Linked DNA regions of Homo sapiens: regions 1, 2, 4 and 5 are each linked to region 3. The links are contacts of gene promoters, found by promoter capture Hi-C in blood cells and fetal thymus (Javierre and others, 2016). All regions are on one chromosome and are shown on one strand. Each heading gives the region's core, a stretch centred on a gene start or on the middle of the fragment in contact. The rest is flanking DNA. Distances are from core to core; before and after follow the strand shown. Region 1 overlaps C3orf52 (chromosome 3 open reading frame 52). Region 2 overlaps SLC35A5 (solute carrier family 35 member A5). Region 3 holds the start of CD200 (CD200 molecule). Region 4 overlaps ATG3 (autophagy related 3). Region 5 overlaps C3orf52 (chromosome 3 open reading frame 52).

Evidence for each region. Contacts are between HindIII fragments. The CHiCAGO score rates a contact against its expected background, and 5 or more counts as called.
Region 1: a fragment that was not itself captured here is called in contact with the fragment with the promoter of CD200 in region 3 in 3 of 17 cell types (naive B cells, M2 macrophages and naive CD8 T cells); the score reaches 6.0 in naive B cells.
Region 2: a contact is called between a fragment that was not itself captured here and the fragment with the promoter of CD200 in region 3, in 2 of 17 cell types (naive B cells and total B cells). The highest score is 6.8, in naive B cells.
Region 4: a contact is called between a fragment that was not itself captured here and the fragment with the promoter of CD200 in region 3, in 7 of 17 cell types (naive B cells, total B cells, activated CD4 T cells and 4 more). The highest score is 8.0, in naive B cells.
Region 5: a contact is called between a fragment that was not itself captured here and the fragment with the promoter of CD200 in region 3, in 16 of 17 cell types (total B cells, naive B cells, naive CD4 T cells and 13 more). The highest score is 22.4, in total B cells.

What each region holds. Positions count from the first base shown.
Region 1 is chr3:112,089,790-112,093,661 of GRCh38, forward strand. It overlaps C3orf52 (chromosome 3 open reading frame 52), which reads left to right. Exons shown (of 6, transcript NM_024616.3): 2 at 3,571-3,700. Among named protein-coding and RNA genes, the nearest start is that of C3orf52, 5.3 kb to the left of the region's middle. The HindIII fragment of the contact is 7,540 bases long and covers 1-3,872 here.
Region 2 is chr3:112,577,195-112,580,511 of GRCh38, forward strand. All of the region lies in intron 5 of SLC35A5 (solute carrier family 35 member A5), which reads left to right. Among named protein-coding and RNA genes, the nearest start is that of SLC35A5, 17 kb to the left of the region's middle. The HindIII fragment of the contact is 512 bases long and covers 1,413-1,924 here.
Region 3 is chr3:112,331,078-112,334,799 of GRCh38, forward strand. It overlaps CD200 (CD200 molecule), which reads left to right and starts at 2,079. Exons shown (of 6, transcript NM_005944.7): 1 at 2,079-2,147. The coding sequence starts at 2,136. LOC105374042 (a long non-coding RNA gene) reads left to right here. Exons shown (of 5, transcript NR_147411.1): 5 at 1,109-1,677. RefSeq lists enhancers at 1,746-2,703, 2,704-3,660. The HindIII fragment of the contact is 4,002 bases long and covers 1,004-3,722 here.
Region 4 is chr3:112,553,997-112,557,514 of GRCh38, forward strand. All of the region lies in intron 2 of ATG3 (autophagy related 3), which reads right to left. Among named protein-coding and RNA genes, the nearest start is that of ATG3, 6.2 kb to the right of the region's middle. The HindIII fragment of the contact is 3,918 bases long and covers 1-3,518 here.
Region 5 is chr3:112,106,819-112,110,540 of GRCh38, forward strand. C3orf52 (chromosome 3 open reading frame 52) reads left to right here. Exons shown (of 6, transcript NM_024616.3): 4 at 2,725-2,795. Among named protein-coding and RNA genes, the nearest start is that of MIR567, 4.1 kb to the right of the region's middle. The HindIII fragment of the contact is 3,181 bases long and covers 691-3,722 here.

The DNA.
Region 1 (3,872 bases), core at 1,339-3,838, 240 kb before region 3:
GTTGCAGGATCCTGTGTCATGTATTTAGACCTTTATCTAAAGACGGATGTAAATATCCGGGGAATGTTCATAGGAAAGCCCTGAAAATTCTTGAGCCATATAATATGATCACAGAATATAAGATGCAGATTGCAAATGTAAATTATTAAGCCATGTAAAACAATAATAGAATGTAAGATGCAGTTGCAAATATCTCCGGAAGGCACCTTGCAGAAGAATCTATGTGTGGCCTCTCCTCACGATCTAGAATTTGGGCAAGAGAGATGAAGCCAGTGAAGAAGGCAGTGTGTCTTCATGATCCAGTTTTGAGGCAAGACTCAGATGGCACAGGTAGCACACACCTACTGTGTCACAGGCTCTTCACCCTCAGGGCACATTGGAATCTCCGGGCGTTACTTCTAAAAGATACTAATTCCTCAGCTGATTCTAATGGGCAGACAGCTGAGAAGCACTGTACAGTCTATTGTTTGGCTGGGAGTGTCTGACAGTTTCATGTGCTTTTTTTTTTTTTTTTTTTTTCATTTGAGAGAGTCTCACTCCTGCCACCCAGGCTGGAGTGCAGTAGTATGCTCATAGCTCACTGCAGCCTTGACCTCTTGGGCTCAAGCGATCCTCCCACCTCAGACTCCTCAGTATCTGGGACCACAGGTGTAAACCGTCATGTCTGGCTATTTTTTTATTTTTATTTTTTGTTGTGACAGACCATTTTATAATGACATAAAGTCTGTGAATATTAATCATGTAAGGGATAGCGCTCAGCGGTCTTCCTCTTAGAGCTGAGGACAGGTCAGTGAGGGCACTAGGCTACAGGAAGAGGCATTTCCTATAGATGACGGCTGTAAAATTTTAAGCTGAGTTCCTCCAGGAAGTCATAGAGTAATTAGTGGTTTTTTTCAACACACCAGAGTCCTAATTTGTGATCTCTAAGGGACAGCATAAATAAAGGCATGAGAGGCCAAGGAGGTGCATTGACACTCATTCTATGGCTCATTTGAAACTAGATATTTCCTTTTGTGCTAATCTTTATGGGTCCCAGCTGCCTTTTATGAGGGCTGAAAATAGCACCAGGGCTTTGGCCTCAGGAGCTCTGTAAATGGGGAGATGTTTCTGTCCCCTGAGAAACTGAAGATTCTTTGTACTGGGATGTCTTTTTCCCGTGTGGCTTCCCCTGGCTTTGAAGCAGTTCTGCAGGTTTTGAGTGGGGATGAGAGGTGACCCTATCCCTGGATTCCAGAAATGCACTTAACTCAAGAGGGATTTCCTCTGTCAAGATATCCCTAGGGCCTTTAAGTGCTCCCCTCGCACCTCTGACAGGCTAGGCCTCAGAGTCAGTGTAAAGTGCACTTGGGAAATCCAACATTTGTCCCCTCATCTAGATTTTCTCAAAGTCCATTCTTAAAATTTCTGGGAGGCCTCTACAACTAAACAGCCCACAATCGTTAAATGTATATTACTTGTAGAAGGCACAGGTGTGGAATATAAGAACAGGGCAGTTTAAGAGCACCCCTCCTCTATGTGGTTTCAGTTTACGCAGGAAGATAAGGCCAGGCTCTGTTTGTTTTTGAACCTGAAACCGGACAGGGCAGTCAGTGGCAACAGCAGATGGGCTATGTGGACAGCTCAGGTATTGGAAGATCTCACTAAGGGCAGGTGGGGAGGGAGGCTTCCACCAAAGGGGAGATTTGACCTAACTCCCGAAAGGTGGGAGGCCTCAGACCAGAGGTCTGCCATGGCCTCCTCCCACCTCCCTTACAATCTGGTCCACTAGGTGCAGGTGGGGCCTAGGTATGTGTCAGTTAAAATCCTTACCCAGTGATTCTGATGTGCAGCCAGGCTTGGGCACCTCTAATTGAGAAGGTTGGAAATACAGTCCAAGTGTGGACTGACCGATTCGTTTTCTGATGGCCAGCACCAAAATAAGAATGGCAGAGAAGGCCAGTCGCGGTGGCTCATGCCTGTAATCCCAGCACTTTGGGAGGTTGAGGCGGGAGGATCACGAGGTCAGGAGATCGAGACCATCCTGGCTAACACAGTGAAACCCCGTCTCTACTAAATATACAAAAAATTAGCCGGGCGTGGTGGCGGGCGCCTGTAGTCCCAGCTACTCGGGAGGCTGAGGCAGGAGAATGGCGTGAACCCGGGAGGCGGAGCTTGCAGTGAGCGGAGATCGTGCTGCTGCACTCCAGCCTGGGCGACAGAGCGAGACTCCATCTCAAGAAAAAAAGAAAAAAAAAAAAAAGAATGGGAGAGAAAGCAGGCCAGGTGGCCAGGTGTCGGTCAGGAGCGAGTCTCCTCGAGTGCCGGCTGCTGCTTTGTGGGATGGTGAACGCTGAGGAATGACTGAGGCGCAGTTGCACCCTTTGGCCGAACTCCCAATAATTGTTTAGCAGATGCTTTGTGTCCATTATCTCTAGTTTTTGCAACAGTCCTGTGAGCTAATTTACTATTTATATATTTTAAAGCTGAGGACTTTGGGGCCTATGAGTTTCAGTAGCTTGCTTAAAGCCACCTTGCCTTTAAGTGGTATATCTTGGTTTGGAATCCAAGTGTGTTAGATACAGACACATTTTTTCCCCATTGTATTCTGTTGTTTCCCATGGTCTCCATGAAAGAATTATCTAATGGTGGAGTGGGAAGTAGGAGAAGAGTCATGGGACCATATAGGGTAAGGTGGGGGCCCCTCTGTGACACCCTCATAAACCGGAGCTCTGCACAGTGATGTGGACAAAAGGGAAAGTTGGAGAGCTTTGTGGAGACACACAGCAGGGATTGGTTCTGGCTCATCTCTCTGAATTGCGTCTTTGAAATGGACTAGTGCACACCCTGAAGGGCTGTTAGGGTTAAGTGAAATGACGCTGGTGCTCAATAAACCATAGCAGTTGTACTTGTTTTCATTGACCCCTCCTCTGCCTCACTCCAGCCTTCTCACTCCAGCTTTGCAGCTTATTTCCTGTTGTCTCTTGCAGCTGTCCTTTCATTTCCCTTCCCAACCCTTTTTTACATAGAACCTAGGCCACAGCAGTAGCCTTGTAGCTTTTTCTTGGTGTTTCCACTCTAAACCACACATGATTTTCCCTTAATTTTCAACTCGGCTCTGGTGTTTCAAAACCTTCAAGTTTCCAGTGCACACCCAATTAAGTCCAATCTATTCTGGGACAGCTATCAACACCCTCTGAGTGTGCTCCCAGCCTTTCACTCTCTCTAATCTTAACTTTCATTATTTGCCTCTGAAACCCACATTCCAGTCGGCAGGCTAGTCTGCTGGCCGGTTCCATTACGAATCCACACTTTGGATGCTCTTTCCTGGGTTTGGAATGCCTTCAAAAATCCATCTTTCAAAATCCTGCCTATCCTCCCCACTTCAGAGCCCCCAGAGGATTTTCTTGCTAACTTCTTGATGAGGTTCTGTTCTGCCTCTGATCTCTCTTTTTGAAAACTTGATTCAGTAGAGTGTTGCCCTAAGGTCAGGGTCTTGCTGCCTTCATTTCTGTGTCTCTGGCACATCCTAGGTATTCAGAACTGTCTGTTGCAACACAATGACTGCCTCACAATCTCCCTCTGCCTTTCTAGGCTAACAAGGAAAGCCCCTGGAGCTCCTGTAATAAGAATGTGGTTGGAAGATGCAAACTGTGGATGATCATCACCTCCATTTTCCTAGGTGTCATTACAGTGATCATCATAGGCTTATGTCTTGCTGCAGGTAAGAGGATTTAGATGTGAATAAATAACACATTTTAAGAACTTACTTAAGGCTTGTGACTTACACTGAAATGGAAGATGTACTCATAGCCATTTCATTATTTATAATGTGAATTTAAGACCGGCTTGGAATATATTGTATGGGTGGGAGATATGCCTGATTCTTGTGTTTT
Region 2 (3,317 bases), core at 419-2,918, 250 kb after region 3:
TGAAAGTGGGAAAAAAAATATTATCATCTAAATGTCCTATTGTCTTTTCTAAAAAGAATAAAATACCTAAAGGCATTCTCATAAAAGACAATATTAGATTATTAGCATGTTATTTTCCAAGGATTCAAACTTTATGTGAATGTATAGATTTGTTCTTTGAAGTATAAGCCACAATATTAGATTATTAGCATGTTATTTTCCAAGGATTCAAACTTTATGTGAATGTATAGATTTGTTCTTTGAAGTATAAGCCACTGGTTCATGGTAGAAACTGGTAGCAGGCATTATGCCTTGTAGCTTGCTTCCCTGGTTTGCTTGTAACCTAAGCAAAGTTGCACAATTTTGTTTGCTTTAGCTTTGGGAAATAATACCAACCTAAACATTGAGATTGGAGGCAAAGGATAACCAAGACCAGCACTTATTTTTACCTAAAAAATGTATATAAGTTTCTCTGATTTCCTCAAAGAGAAGGTATGGAAAAAAATTATTTAAAAATACATTTTGAAACATGGTGGATGTCTAGGAAGTAAGGGTAAAGTTTAGTTACTGTCTGAAACAGCAGAAGAACAAAGAGAAGTGCCACTCAGTAGTAGTACAAGCATTTCTCCAGAATCATTCATTCAGTTGATAAATTTTCTCTGTGACTTCTCATTATAAATCTGCCCCTTGTCACTCTCTTTGTGCTACTAAGAAATGTGTTTTGTACAGTTTCTTGAGAAAACAATTATGTGAGTCTTTCCATTTAATTGTCTTCATACCCTGCACTAGTTTACTACCACCAAATATAGAAGTGCTCTTATCTGACACAATTTGAACCTATTGGTTAGTTGCTAGGAAAACTTATAGTGATGAATCATATACATAAGTATATATAGAAAATATCTAAACAATTTATTTTAACTTAGAATATGTAAATATACATGTATTCATCATTCTTCTAATGTTGAACTAAAGCCCCCCCTTTGAGTATGTTACTGATTGAAGTTCCTTAGCTCACCTATATGTTATTAGAAAACAGCTTTTTATCTTCTGAATGATTTACCTTCACTTAGTCTTCCCAAAGTGTTCAACTTAGTTTTCATAAAAACAGCTTCTTGTCTTTTACTCATAGTTTATCATTTATGTAATCTTTATGTAGTGACAACAGTGAGGTCACCTGGCAAAAACATGTTTAGGAACAGAGATTCTGTGGGCAAACAATTCACTTGGGAGGAGAGGCCCTCAGGAAGAGTAGCCTTCTAGCCACAGGCATTCGGCTCTGAGCATCCATTACTATGTTTTACCGAGGCAGTGGAGAGATGAGTGAAGTGAGCTTCCACTGTTTTGTATCAGTTAAACTGAAGAACAAATTGGGCCTAGCAGACTCAGTTGTCATTTCAGATTGTCAGCTGACTTTACAGGGTAATTTATTAAGCTTTATTTTCTTTCCTAAAAATCTACCATTTTTAATTTTTAGCTTAATCCTTAATAAATTTTACGTTCCTTAGAGCATTACCTTGAATGAGTAATTGTTTACAGAAGGTGTTGTTTAGCTTAAGGATTTCTTTCTTTTTTCTTAATATTAGTGAAAAATGTATAGCTCTAGAAAACTTTTAAAGGAACTATAGATTATATCATTGCCTCACTTATATGCGATTTGCAATAATTAATTATGGAATTTTTTTTGTAAAATGGACACCCATTTTTTATCTCTGTGGTCATTCTATTTGTTTTCTGCTACTTAATGTGTATCAGCTGCACCTTCAGAAATTTAAGTGGTTAGTTCACAGTTTCTCACCTGATGGCATAAGGCTGCGCTAACGCCATCAGTAAGTTCTAGATCAGGCTATTTGAAAATTACATACATATGAGAAAGCATATAATAGTGTGCACAGGTATGCTGCTATCTAGGCTAGTCTGTGCATTTAGCAGTTTCAGAGCATGAAGCTTTATATGCACACAACTTCCTATATGTGCATCCTGGAAACTTAGAATTATACTTAGGAGGTGTGATGATGCAGAAGGAAGACATACAAAACCATGGATCCGATCCCTTCTTTAGTGTTTAAGTACATGACCTTAGGGAAATCTGTTAGGTTAACTGTTTCCTCCCTTAGAGCGGAAATGCCTAAGTGTATGGTAGGTGCTCAATAAATGCTCCAATGATATAAAAATTCTCACTTCTGGTTCCCACCTATTGCTTTACACTTCTGCATTTTTTATGTTCCTCTTTTTTTCTCGGTGTTCCCCTTCTTTGCCTAACTAACTGATCTTCAAACATCAAGATTTTGTTCCCCCAAGAGGCCTCCTGACAACGCCAATGAAAGTGAGATATTCCTCTTTGTCAACATTGTACATTCTTGTTGCCTTTGCATAGAGACTCTTCCCTCTGCCTGGATATATCACCACCTCCTTTTTCACATGATAAACTTCAATTAATTTTTCATCTTCTAGCTCAAGTGTCATTTCCTCTTTGAAGCAATACCTGACTATTTACAGATTGTAGTGTTCCTCAGTTTACTCCACTTGTCCCATTAATCACTTTTCACACATACTGAAATCATTTAGTTTCATTGTTTTCTCACTGTTAAAGCATAAATTCCTTGAACATGGAGATAAGTCATCTTTATCGCCCCAGGTTGCCTGGCACGTAGTAGCTGCTTATTAAACATCTGTTGAATAGAATGAATCAGCAAAATGGAATAATAATAGTACATGTCCTTTATTTCTCACAAGTTTGTTGCTAAGGAAAATAAACAAAGGATTGTTAGGACTTTGTAAACTGAAATACTGCCCAAAATAACATTTTTCTTTGGCTTGTCAGCCAGCAGTTTGCTGTTTAATGCTCTACGATTAGGACATGGATCTAGAGCTAACCTTCTCCTTTAAATCTTTTTTGGGTTATGGACACCTTTAAAGATTTGACAAAGCTTTGCAGGATCTCCTGCATAGGGGGAAATTCATCTGTACACAACATTTCTGAAGCTCATCTACATTCTTTCTGGTTCTGGGAAACCAGGTTGAGAATCTCTGCTGTAACTTTATAGTACAATAAAAGTTACTGTGCCAGAGGTCCAGGATACCTCTAGAGGTAGAAAGGAGGCCATGTTAAACTTGTAGGTTAAAAGGAAACCTACACAGAAGGGAAATGACTTGAGCAGCCTTAGGGGATAGGTGTTATAAAAATGAATTAAAACATTAAATTTGAGAGACAGGCACCAACAGTTTTTCTCTGAACTTGAGTGGTAGGAAATGCTAGCAAAAACTGGGTCCAGTTTATTCAACCAAATACTCAAGTGTCTGAGTTTTCAGTAGAAACTATTGATATGGGGGGAAAA
Region 3 (3,722 bases), core at 829-3,328:
TAATAGAGGAAGGTTAAAAATAAAGTGATAGGAAAATATATGGGAAAAATAAATGTAATAGAATGATGTACATATGCTTGTGAAAAGACAGGTATAAGAATGTTTATAGCACCACTATGAAAAATGCTTCCAATTTGAAAAACAAAGAAATGTTAATTAATAGAAGAATAGATAAATAAATTGTAATAGACAGTATTTACAGAATAGGATACTATACATCAGTGAGAATGAATAAGCCACACTACAGGCAATAACATGGATGGATTTTTAAAATCTACTGTTGAGTAAAAAACCCAGAAACAAGTGAAGACATATGCTACGATGCCATTCATATAAAATTCAAAATCAGGTGAGCCTAGTCTATGGTGTTAGAAGTAGGAGAATAGGGGCCGGGCGCGGTGGCTCACGCCTGTAATTCCCACAACTTTGGGAGGCTGAGACGGGCGAATCATGAAGTCAGGAGATCGAGACCATCCTGGCTAAACGGTGAAACCCCGTCTCTACTAAAAATACAAAAAAAATTAGCCGGGCGTGGTGGCGGGCGCCTGTAGTCCCAGCTACTTCGGAGGCTGAGGCAGGAGAATGGCGTGAACCCAGGAGGCAGAGCTTGCAGTGAGCCGAGATCGCGCCACTGCACTCCAGCCTGGACGACAGAGCGAGACTCCGCCCCCGTCTCCCACCGCCCCCCCCCCAAAAAAAGAAGTGGGAGAATAGGTCAGGTGCAGTGGTTCATGCCTGTAATCCCACTGCTTTGGGAGGCAAAGGTAGAAGGAGCATTTGAGGCTAGGAATTTCAGGCCAGCCTGGGCAACACAAGACCCCGTGTCTGGAAAAAAAAAAAAAGCTGGACATAGTGGCTGCACAACTATCATTCTAGCTACTCTAGAGGCTGAGGTGAGAGGATCCCTTGAGCCCAGGAGTGAGTTATGATCGCACCACTGCATTCCAGCTTGGACAACAGAGCGAGACTTTGTCTGTAAAAAGAAGCAAAAACAAAACCCCAAAGCTTTGTCCCAGCTCCTTATGAGAGGGTGGTAGTAGTAAAACACAAAAGCCTTCAGGAGGTGAACACTTGATGATTTCTTTGTCCTTTTTTTTTTTTTTTTAAGAGCCAAGAACTCTGGAACAAGAAGAAGAAGACGAAGGAGGAGGAGGAGGGGGAGGGGGAGGAGGAGAAGGAGAAGGAGGAGAAGGAGAAGGAGAAGGAGACGGAGAAGGAGGAAGAGGAGGAGGAGGGCCGGGCGCAGTGGCTCACGCCTGTAATCCCAGCATTTTGGGAGGCCGAGGCGGGCGGATCACGAGGTCAAGAGACCGAGACCATCCTGGCTAACATGGTGAAACCCCGTCTCTACTAAAAATACAAAAAATTAGCCGGGCATGGTGGCGGGCGTCTGTAGTCCCAGCTACTCGGGAGGCTGAGGCAGGAGAATGGCGGGAACCCGGGAGGCGGAGCTTGTAGTGAGCCAAGATAGCGCCACTGCACTCCAGCCTGGACCACAGAGCGAGACTCCGTCTCAAGAAGAAGAAGAAGGAGAAGAAGGAGAAGGAGAAGGGAAAAAAGAATCCTCATCATTAATGCAAGTGGAAGGAAACTCTTCACCAAAGAATTGATCACATCATGAAAGGTGAAATCATTACGGAATTGCTTAAATATATAATTTGAATCTGGATTTAAAAATAATAAATGTAAGTTTTTTCTTTAAAAAAAAAAAAAAGTCCATTGGTTAAATTCAGCTTGAATCCTTTGCCACTACATCAAGAGCTAACAGGTCAACAACTGATCTCCACAACCTCCCACCTCATTTCCTTTCTCAGTCCAGGTAGCAGGAAAATGGAAAAAAAAAAATGATTTTTTTTTTCCAAACACTTTGTCAGTTTCCCCAGCGGTCACCTTTGAAAAGGGAAAAATGTCTGAAAATAGACAAAGCTGAATATAAACATCATTTAATTCCCCCCACACAGACAGCCTCCGCTCCTGTGAGGGCGTGGGGAAAACGGAGTGGGAGAAGGGGGCTAGCGAGGAGGAAGAGGCGGGAGGTGCGGCAGGGGCACAGGTGACGCTCCTCCCGCCTGCCTAGCAGAGCTCCAGGCGCACATCCGCAGTCAGCCACCTCGCGCGCGCCTCCAGGAGCAAGGATGGAGAGGCTGGTGAGCGGGGCCGGGGCTTGGGAAGGAGGGCGCAGGGCAGGCGATGTTGAGCCGGTGGCCCTGGGGCGGGCGGCGAGTGGAAGGCGCGGAGCTTCGGCTCTTGCCACAATCTGGTCCGGGGACTAGATCAGCGGTGTTGATGGCAGCGCTTTTCTCTAAGCGCTTTCTCTTGCTGAGAAACGGATTTTGCCTTCCAAAGGGTGGTTTACAGGCAGCTGCTGGCGTCCAGATTCTCCATTCCAATTGCCTGAAAAAAAGATGCACCAGGCCGGGGCTCCGGGGGCTCTTGATCCGCGCTGACGAAGCTGGCGCATCCTCCGGGCAGGCTCGGCTCGGCTCACTGGCTCCAGCTCCCAAAACTGGGGAGGCACAGCCTATTTTAAACTGCCCCCAAAAGGGAAAGAGAAATGCTGTATTGGTTCCATATTGGCACCAAAAGCTGCGGCGGAGATACAGATTTCCAGGCTCGCTTTCTCCGGGAGAGCTCCTGCGTCTCCTCTTTGTTATGCAGCCCCTTTCTCCCTCCTAGCCCTTGCCTGGGGGAAGCCATGAAGGATCAGTTAAAGCTGAAGCTACACTTGAGAGAGCTGAAATGCTCTGTGATCATAATGCTTTGAAGGGTTAACCCCGGGTATCTAGAGAAACAGACATTTTGTTTATTCGGAACCAGCTTACAAGACAAAAAACGGAGAAGGTTTTCATATATCCCATTGGTATATGAAATCCAAATACAATGGTATTGGTATAAGAATCCAAATACAGTGAATGCCTCAAGATAATTTTTTCATGTATGGTTTGTTGGCAAGACCACATAGCCAATGATTTCACTGTCTTTCTTAACAAAGGAGAATGGTGGTCTGTGAGCTACGGTCTACTGCAAGCTAGATGCTGTTAATCTTCTTTGTAACTATCCTTCTAAAAATGAATTATTACCTCGTTTTACACATAAACAGGCGGAAAGGCTGATATTTCCAAGTCCTTGTGACTACATGTGGGGTAATGTGGATTTGGACATAGAAACTTGCTGAGGAAGAGGCATGAATAGGGGCAATATAGCTACCAGGTGGGCAGCTGTCTGGTAAGACCCAGGTTTTTGTGAACCCTGGACTGCATGGCAAGGGTTATAAGTGGGCTTCTTTGTTTTCAGGACTGTAGTTCCCCCTATATGATTTGATCGATTAATTTTTTTAGCTACCTAACACGTATTGGCATTTACTATAACCTAGGCTCTATACTAAGTGCTTTAATTGCCTAATTCTCATAATAACTATGTGAGATAAGAGCAACATTTATTTAGTGCTTATTTCTACTGGCAGTATTCTAGGAGCTTTATATACTACTTCATTTAGTCTTTTTAACCATTAGATTGGTACTATTACTTTTCCGGAGTCTCAGAGAGGTAAAATGATTTCTTTTGCTCACAAATCTAGTATTTGTTTTAGCCCCGGTCACCTCCCTGTAAACATATAAATACTGTTGTTTTCAGATTGGTCGTATTTTCAGTTATTCTGCACAGACTCGAGGAAAAAAAAAACCTGTAAAATAAAAATACGTATCTATTTAAGAGTAAGGCTT
Region 4 (3,518 bases), core at 629-3,128, 220 kb after region 3:
GCTGAATATTGTACAAGTTTTTGTTTTTCTTCAGAAATAAAAACCAGATTCAGGGAGATAAACTTTAACCATTTGAGAATTATCAGTTTACACGAACATGAGCTGATCTTACTGGCGAACAGAAATCCTGCTTATTTCTGAGGGCAGAAAATTTAAGTCTGTTAAGCATAACTGCAGTGTCCCAACTCAAGCAGGATGTGCATTGTCAGGCCTCTGAGCCCAAGCTAAGCCATCATATACCCTGTGACCTGCACGTATACATCTAGATGTGCTGAAGCAACTGAAGATCCACAAAAGAAGTGAAAATAGCCTTAATTGATGACACTCCACCATTGTGATTTGTTTCTGCCCCACCCTAACTGATCAAGGTACTTTGTAATCTCCCCCATCCTTAAGAAGGTTCTTTGTAATTCTCCCCATCCTTGAGAATGTATTTTGTGCCATCCACCCCCTGCCCACAAAACATTGCTCCTAACTCCACTGCCTATCCCAAAATCTATAAGAACTAATGATAATCTCACCATCCTTTGCTCTTTTCGGACTCAGCCCGCCTGCACCCAGGTGAAATAAACAGCCTTGTTGCTCACACAAAGCCTGTTTGGTGGTCTCTACACATGGACGCATGTGACACCCACATACTTGCCAAATTACTTCTATTTTGCAACAGCTCTAGCTTAAAATCTTGTATTGTTCATGGGTTTACTACACAGCAAAAAATTACAAAATATTTAATCTCTAATACCTTTGAGAAAGTATGCCTATATAAAATACTCTAGTTTAATTTGAGCATATAATTCTATCAAATAAGAATTCTAAGAATAACCTCTTTTAAGATGAAACATTAACAAGATATAGCAACTGGATTCCTGATAGAAACTTTATGTTTCTGTTCTTTTACTTCGAATAACCTTATTATTTAAACAGCCTAAGTAAAGACAAAAACCAAAATAAAAACAATAGTCTCTTCCCCAAATTTTGAGCACTTCGAGCTCATTGCAACCAGATGCTACATTTAGCTCTGTGGTTATCAGGAACTAATTTATTACCATTAAAAGTAATAATTTAACTAAATGAAAGCAAAATAATTAAAAATAAAAAATTCTTTCATTGTATTGCCTTGAGGTAACAAGACTAACATTTTATCTCATAGTCCCTATAGTATCTTCTATTTAAAAACAAGAACACTAGGAGGCAAGAAAAACGAAAAACAAAAAACAAAACAAAAAAAACACAGACTCACACTGATAATACATGTGTACATCTGCCCTCATTAGCAATGGCCATCATAACTTGCTTCACGTGTTCAAATGATGCAAGATTCAAATTTCTAAATGATCAATATTGCTTGCAATAGCTTTCTCTTAGAGACTAAAAATGTTCTCTTATTATCTTTATTATCAGTATATAATACTGACCAACTCCAACAAGAATCAATATTTACACCTTGGTGAGCAATTCCATTCCTCAAGCTAACCTCAATTAATAGTATTCTACTTAAACAAGTCATACATACATCCAACATTAGTTTTTTCTTTGTTTTTTGACAATACAGTATCAGATACTAGCTGCCCCTCTTTTTAAGCACAATACTGCCACACCTCTGAATGAAAACAAAAAGATAGCTGATGTCTGGCAGAAACTCAGAAACAGCAAGATGAAACAAATGAACAAATCAACTCAGTATATAATATTTACACAAAGCAAATGATGCCTTCCCATTTCCTCCTCCAGGCTCATTCTACTCTAACTCAATCCTGTAATTGTGCTCTATCCCAACCCTGCATTATGTAATAGACAGCCAGCTGGGCTAATTTGGCCTTGGATTTTTTTAGAGAGGAAAATTCATAAATTGATTGATGTTGTAATTAAGTGTAACAGTTATTTATTCTAGGATGAATTCCTGTTTTGAAACTGCTTAATTCTATCCAATGACCACAGACTTTGCATCTCTAACTGCAACTATATATTCAACAATTAGTCATCTTCACAGAGGAAATAAAACCAAAGAGTGCAATAAGAACAGCATACTTTCATCTCCGCTCTTGATTTCAGATAAAGAGCCATGTTCAAATTACACCTCTGTTTGGCAAGAATGTTAATGATATCCTTAAAATCAAAACTTAGTTTTATTTGGCATTTGAGGTAATAAAACCTAAGGCAGAATAGGATCTTTACAGAATGTCTAGCCCACAACCGTTATTTTATAGATGAGGAAACATGAAGCCTCGGCAGGGATAGTTTAACTGATTTCCTCATTAGGAGAAATTACCGTCCCGTCCGGGAGGTGAGGGGCGCCTCTGCCTGGCCGCCCCTACTGGGAAGTGAGGAGCCCCTCTGCCCGGCCGCCCCTACTGGGAAGAGAGGAGCCCCTCTGCCCGGCCAGCCGCCCCATCCGGGAGGGAGGTGGGGGGGTCAGCCCCCCGCCCGGCCAGCCGCCCCGTCCGGGAGGTGAGGGGCACCTCTGCCCGGCCGCCCCTACTGGGAAGTGAGGAGCCCCTCTGCCCGGCCACCACCCCGTCTGGGAGGTGTACTCAACAGCTCATTGAGAACGGGCCATGATGACAATGGCGGTTTTGTGGAATAGAAAGGGGGGAAAGGTGGGGAAAAGATTGAGAAATCGGATGGTTGCCATGTCTGTGTAGAAAGAGGTAGACATTGTAGACTTTTCATTTTGTTCTGTACTAAGAAAAATTCTTCTGCCTTGGGATCCTGTTGATCTGTGACCTTACCCCCAACCCTGTGCTCTCTGAAACATGTGCTGTGTCCACTCAGGGTTGAATGGATTAAGGGTGGTGCAAGATGTGCTTTGTTAAACAGATGCTTGAAGGCAGCATGCTCGTTAAGAGTCATCACCACTCCCTAACCTCAAGTACCCAGGGACACAAACACTGCGGAAGGCCACAGGGTCCTCTGCCTAGGAAAACCAGAGACCTTTGTTCACTTATCTGCTGACCTTCCCTCCACTATTGTCCTGTGACCCTGCCAAATCCCCCTCTGCGAGAAACACCCAAGAATGATCAATTAAAAAAAAAAAAGAAATTACAGAAATAGGTCTAGAAGGCAGGTCTCCTAGGTTATTTCCATACTACCATGTGTCTTCACCAAAAACAAAAGACAATTTTAGAGAAAAGATTAGTTATGCAAACCATTTTTTTTTTTCAGACGGAGTCTCGTTCTGTCGCCCAGGCTGGACTACAGGCGCCCACCATCACGCCCCGCTAATTTTTTATATTTTTAGTAGAGACGGGGTTTCGCCCTGTTAGCCTGTATTCCGCCTGCCTCTGCCTCCTAAAGTGTTGGGATTACAGGCGTGAGCCACCACGCCCAGCACAGAAACCATTCTTAAAACTCACAAGGAGCCGGGCGCAGTGGCTCAAGCCTGTAATCCCGAGGCAGGCGGATCACGAGGTCAAGAGGTCGAGACCATTCTGGCCAACATGGTGAAACCCCATCTCTACTAAAAGTACAAAACTTAGCTGGGCGTGGTGGCGCTCACCTGTATTCCCAGCTACTTGGGA
Region 5 (3,722 bases), core at 1,031-3,530, 220 kb before region 3:
GTGCATGGGTTAGGAGTTAATGATGGCACCTGCCTTATTCTGGAAGCTGGTCTCTAATTAGCCACTGCATCAGACTCAGCTAATCAATTCGCTGAGCTCCTTGCTCAGTTTGCACCAAGCCTCATAGACATTGTGTGGGAGACACAAGACTAAGGGTTGAGGAACCACCCTATTTCACTTCTTTGGGCCCAAAGTGGACAGTGTGACTAACAGCTCCCCAAATGTAAATATGTCCTAAGTACAGCAGAGGAGCATGATCAAAAAGAATCTTCGAGTGAACACTAAAAATGATTTAGTCGACCACTCCATATGTTACCTTAAAATTTTAACTTAAAAATTTGCTGAAAGCCTGTTATGTGCAAAACACTGTGCTGGGCCCTAAAGATTAATAAAGGAAAGAAGGGAAGGAGGAAGCAGAGAAGACTGGAAGGAAGGATAAATATCACCTTTGCCATAGGAAGCTCAATCCAAAAGGAAGAGAAAGACATGAGTGCTTGACATTAGTGCTTGAAAAGATTCTCCTCTGCAGCATCCTCATCCTCCTCTCCATCACAGCATCCCCGTGAAAGCTGCTTTCCTAGTTCCCGAGTTTTCTAAATGACTGTCAGCCTATCGGCAACATCCTGTGCATTGGGGCTTAAGAGCTGTACAATGACTCAGTCATTTTCTCCGAAAGTTTTTGTCACTTTAAGCTTCTTTCCTCCTTGATATTCAGGAGACACTTTCCTTCACTGTATATATATCAATTTCTTCTTCACTGGGTAGTGTGGTCAGATGGGAAGAAGCTGGTTTTTAGTGTTCATAACATGTAGGATTGAATTTTGGCTTCTCCTTTTACTAGCACAGTGACCTGGGACAGGTTTTCTTCATCTCATGGAATGGAGTGCTGTTTAATTTTCCAGTAAAAAGGGGAGATATATTAATGCCTGTTTTGCCAGGTTTTTATAAAGATCACAACAGTAGTGACAAGATTAGAAGAGCAGAAATAGCAGGCACTCTCATCTTTTGTTCTCTTTGAGATATGGGTTGTACATGTTGAGTTAAATGGGAGTGTATTGTGGAAGTGCAGCGTCCTTGACATTCCATTTGGAGTTGAGGGGAAACAGGGTAAGCTCCCCATAGGGCACTGCTGTTTTTTGTATGTTCGACTGCTTGTTATTGAATAAAGTAATAGGTCATTAAGCCATAATGGCTGTAGCTGGGGATGGCACATGTTCCTAGTACTACTAGTTTAGGATTCAGATATCTGAAACACAACTACTCAATGCCTGGGAAAAGATACTTGTAACATAATATCAACAACTAGTATCCAGAATATAAAACTAACCACTTCAGATAGATAAGAAAAAGACAGATAAGCCAAGAGAAGGAAAGGAAATGAGTGAGAAATTCAGAGATGAAAAGTCCCAAAGAGTTAATAAACATGAAAAGATGTTCAACCTCACTAGTAAGCGAGGCAGTACAAATTAAAACAATGTGAAGCACTATTTTATACTCCTCGGAGTGGTAAAAATTTAAGTTTGGTAACACTAAGTGCTGGTAAGGATGTGGGAAATGGATATTTATACATTGCTGGGAGGGGTGGGAAAGGGAGAACAATTTTGTGAAGTTGGAGATGCACCTACCCTTAAACCCAACAATTCCTTTTCTTGGCATATGCCCATTGGAAACTCCCGCATGTCCAAGAAGAGATGCATGGAGACATTAAGGATGATTGCTTCAGCATAAGTTGTGATGGGGAAAATTGAGAATAGTGCATGTGATCATCATCAGAGGAATGGATAGGCTGGTATACTCATTTAAAGGAATCTGTGCAGGAGTTAGGTGAATGCCTTTCATTGAGATTTACTTTATGGGTAAATCTTAAATGTAATTTTGAGTGAAAAAAGGCAAGTTTTAGAAGATTATGTAGAATATGGTGCCTTTTATTTGAATAAAAACACAAATTATATTTTGTTATGATTACATAAATAAGTAGTAATTTGTAAAAATATGCAAGGAAAGGATGCATGCCAGCTTCAGAATGATGGTTAGTATTAAGAAAGAGAGAGAGGAGGAACTGAATAGTATGTAGGAGTCACTTTAGCTTTATTTTGTTTCTTAAATTAAAGGGCTGAACCCAATATAGCAAATATGAAGACATGAAAGCTAGGTAGTGGAAACACAGGTGTCATTATTTTTTATGATGCTTGCAATATTTCATGCATAAAATAAAGCCTCCATATTTTTGCAGTTCCCCTCTTTGTCTCTTTGTCCAGGGGATGTGCTAGACCCATGGCTTAGCATGGCTGTTTGTCTTTACACTGAAGCTCTGGAGAAGGGAGAAAGAAGCCCTGGGCTAAGCAATGTCCCAGGTGCTAAGTGGTCTGTGCTGCTGCTGTCCAGCAGCCATTTTGGGGTCTTCTCTTCTCTCCTTCCTATGGTCTGTGAGGCCTGTGTGGGCTCCAGCTGCTGATATTCTCACCACTAAGGCCACAGGGTGCCAGTGCAACTTCTGAGAGAAACTGAGTCATTTGGTCCTTATAAATGGAGTTCTTTTGAAGTAGCATTAACTTGAGTTTTGATTTATGGTGGGCTCAATTCTTGATCCAGAGCTTCCAGATAACGTTGATTCCAGGCTGGAGTGGAATCTCCTCTGCCTTAGAAGCAGTTTTGCTTTGTCAGGTGATGTGTAATATGATCTGTCGGTAATGTGTGTGGTTTAATTTGCTTCTGTTTGTTTAGCTCACAGATGTGTACAGTACATCGCCCTCTCTGGGTCGTTATTTTACTTCAGTTGAAATAGTGGACTTCAGGTAAGAGTGTGGAACATTACATTTTGCTCTCTTTCTCTGGAAAGAGATCCCCCCACCCCACCCTTCGTCATTTACCTAGCAGGGATTCCCAGAGCCTCAGAGCATGAAGGGAACCTGTAATAGAATCACAGAATGTCAGTGCTGGGAAGGTCTTTTACACCAACAGGCTCAACTCCCTTATTTTACAAATGAGAAAAAGGAAGCCCAGATTAATGGTATAATTCAACCAGGGTCACACAGAAGAGGGGAAAAGCCAGTCCCAGGTAAACCATTTCTGTTTAACAATGAATGCTCAAATAAGCTAAGGGTAGAAGTAGAAATAGATCTCAGGTCGTGCTGTGATGCGAGTGATACATGTATAGGCATTTGCTTTTGAGGAGCACAAGTAATACAGGAGTACATTCTCCTTGTTTAGTATTAAAGATGTAAAGAGGGGCCGGGCGTGGTAGCTCACGCCTGTAATCCCAGCACTTTGCGAGGCCAAGGCGGGCAGATCACTTGAGGTCAGGAGTTCAAGACTAGCCTGGCCAACGTGGTGAAACCCTGTCTCAACTAAAAATACAAAAATTAGCCAGGTGTGTTGGTGGGTGCCTCTAATCCCAGCTACTCAGGAGGCTGAGGCAGGAGAATCTCTTGAATTCGGGAGGGGAGGTTGCAGTGAGCCGAGATTGCGCCACTGCACTCCAGCCTGAGTGACAGAGTGAGACTCTGTCAAAAAAATAAAAATAAATAAAAATAAAAAAAAGAAGACATAAAGAGGTATGCACAGGAAAAGTCTCCCTTCTGCCTCCTTTCTTCTCCACTGCCACCACCAATAACTAATGCCATTCCCTTCCATGGAGGTAATAGCTGTCAAGAGTTGAGTGTAATTACTTCTGTTCATGTATCTACCATAGGCACCACAAATACTACACACACATAGGATAT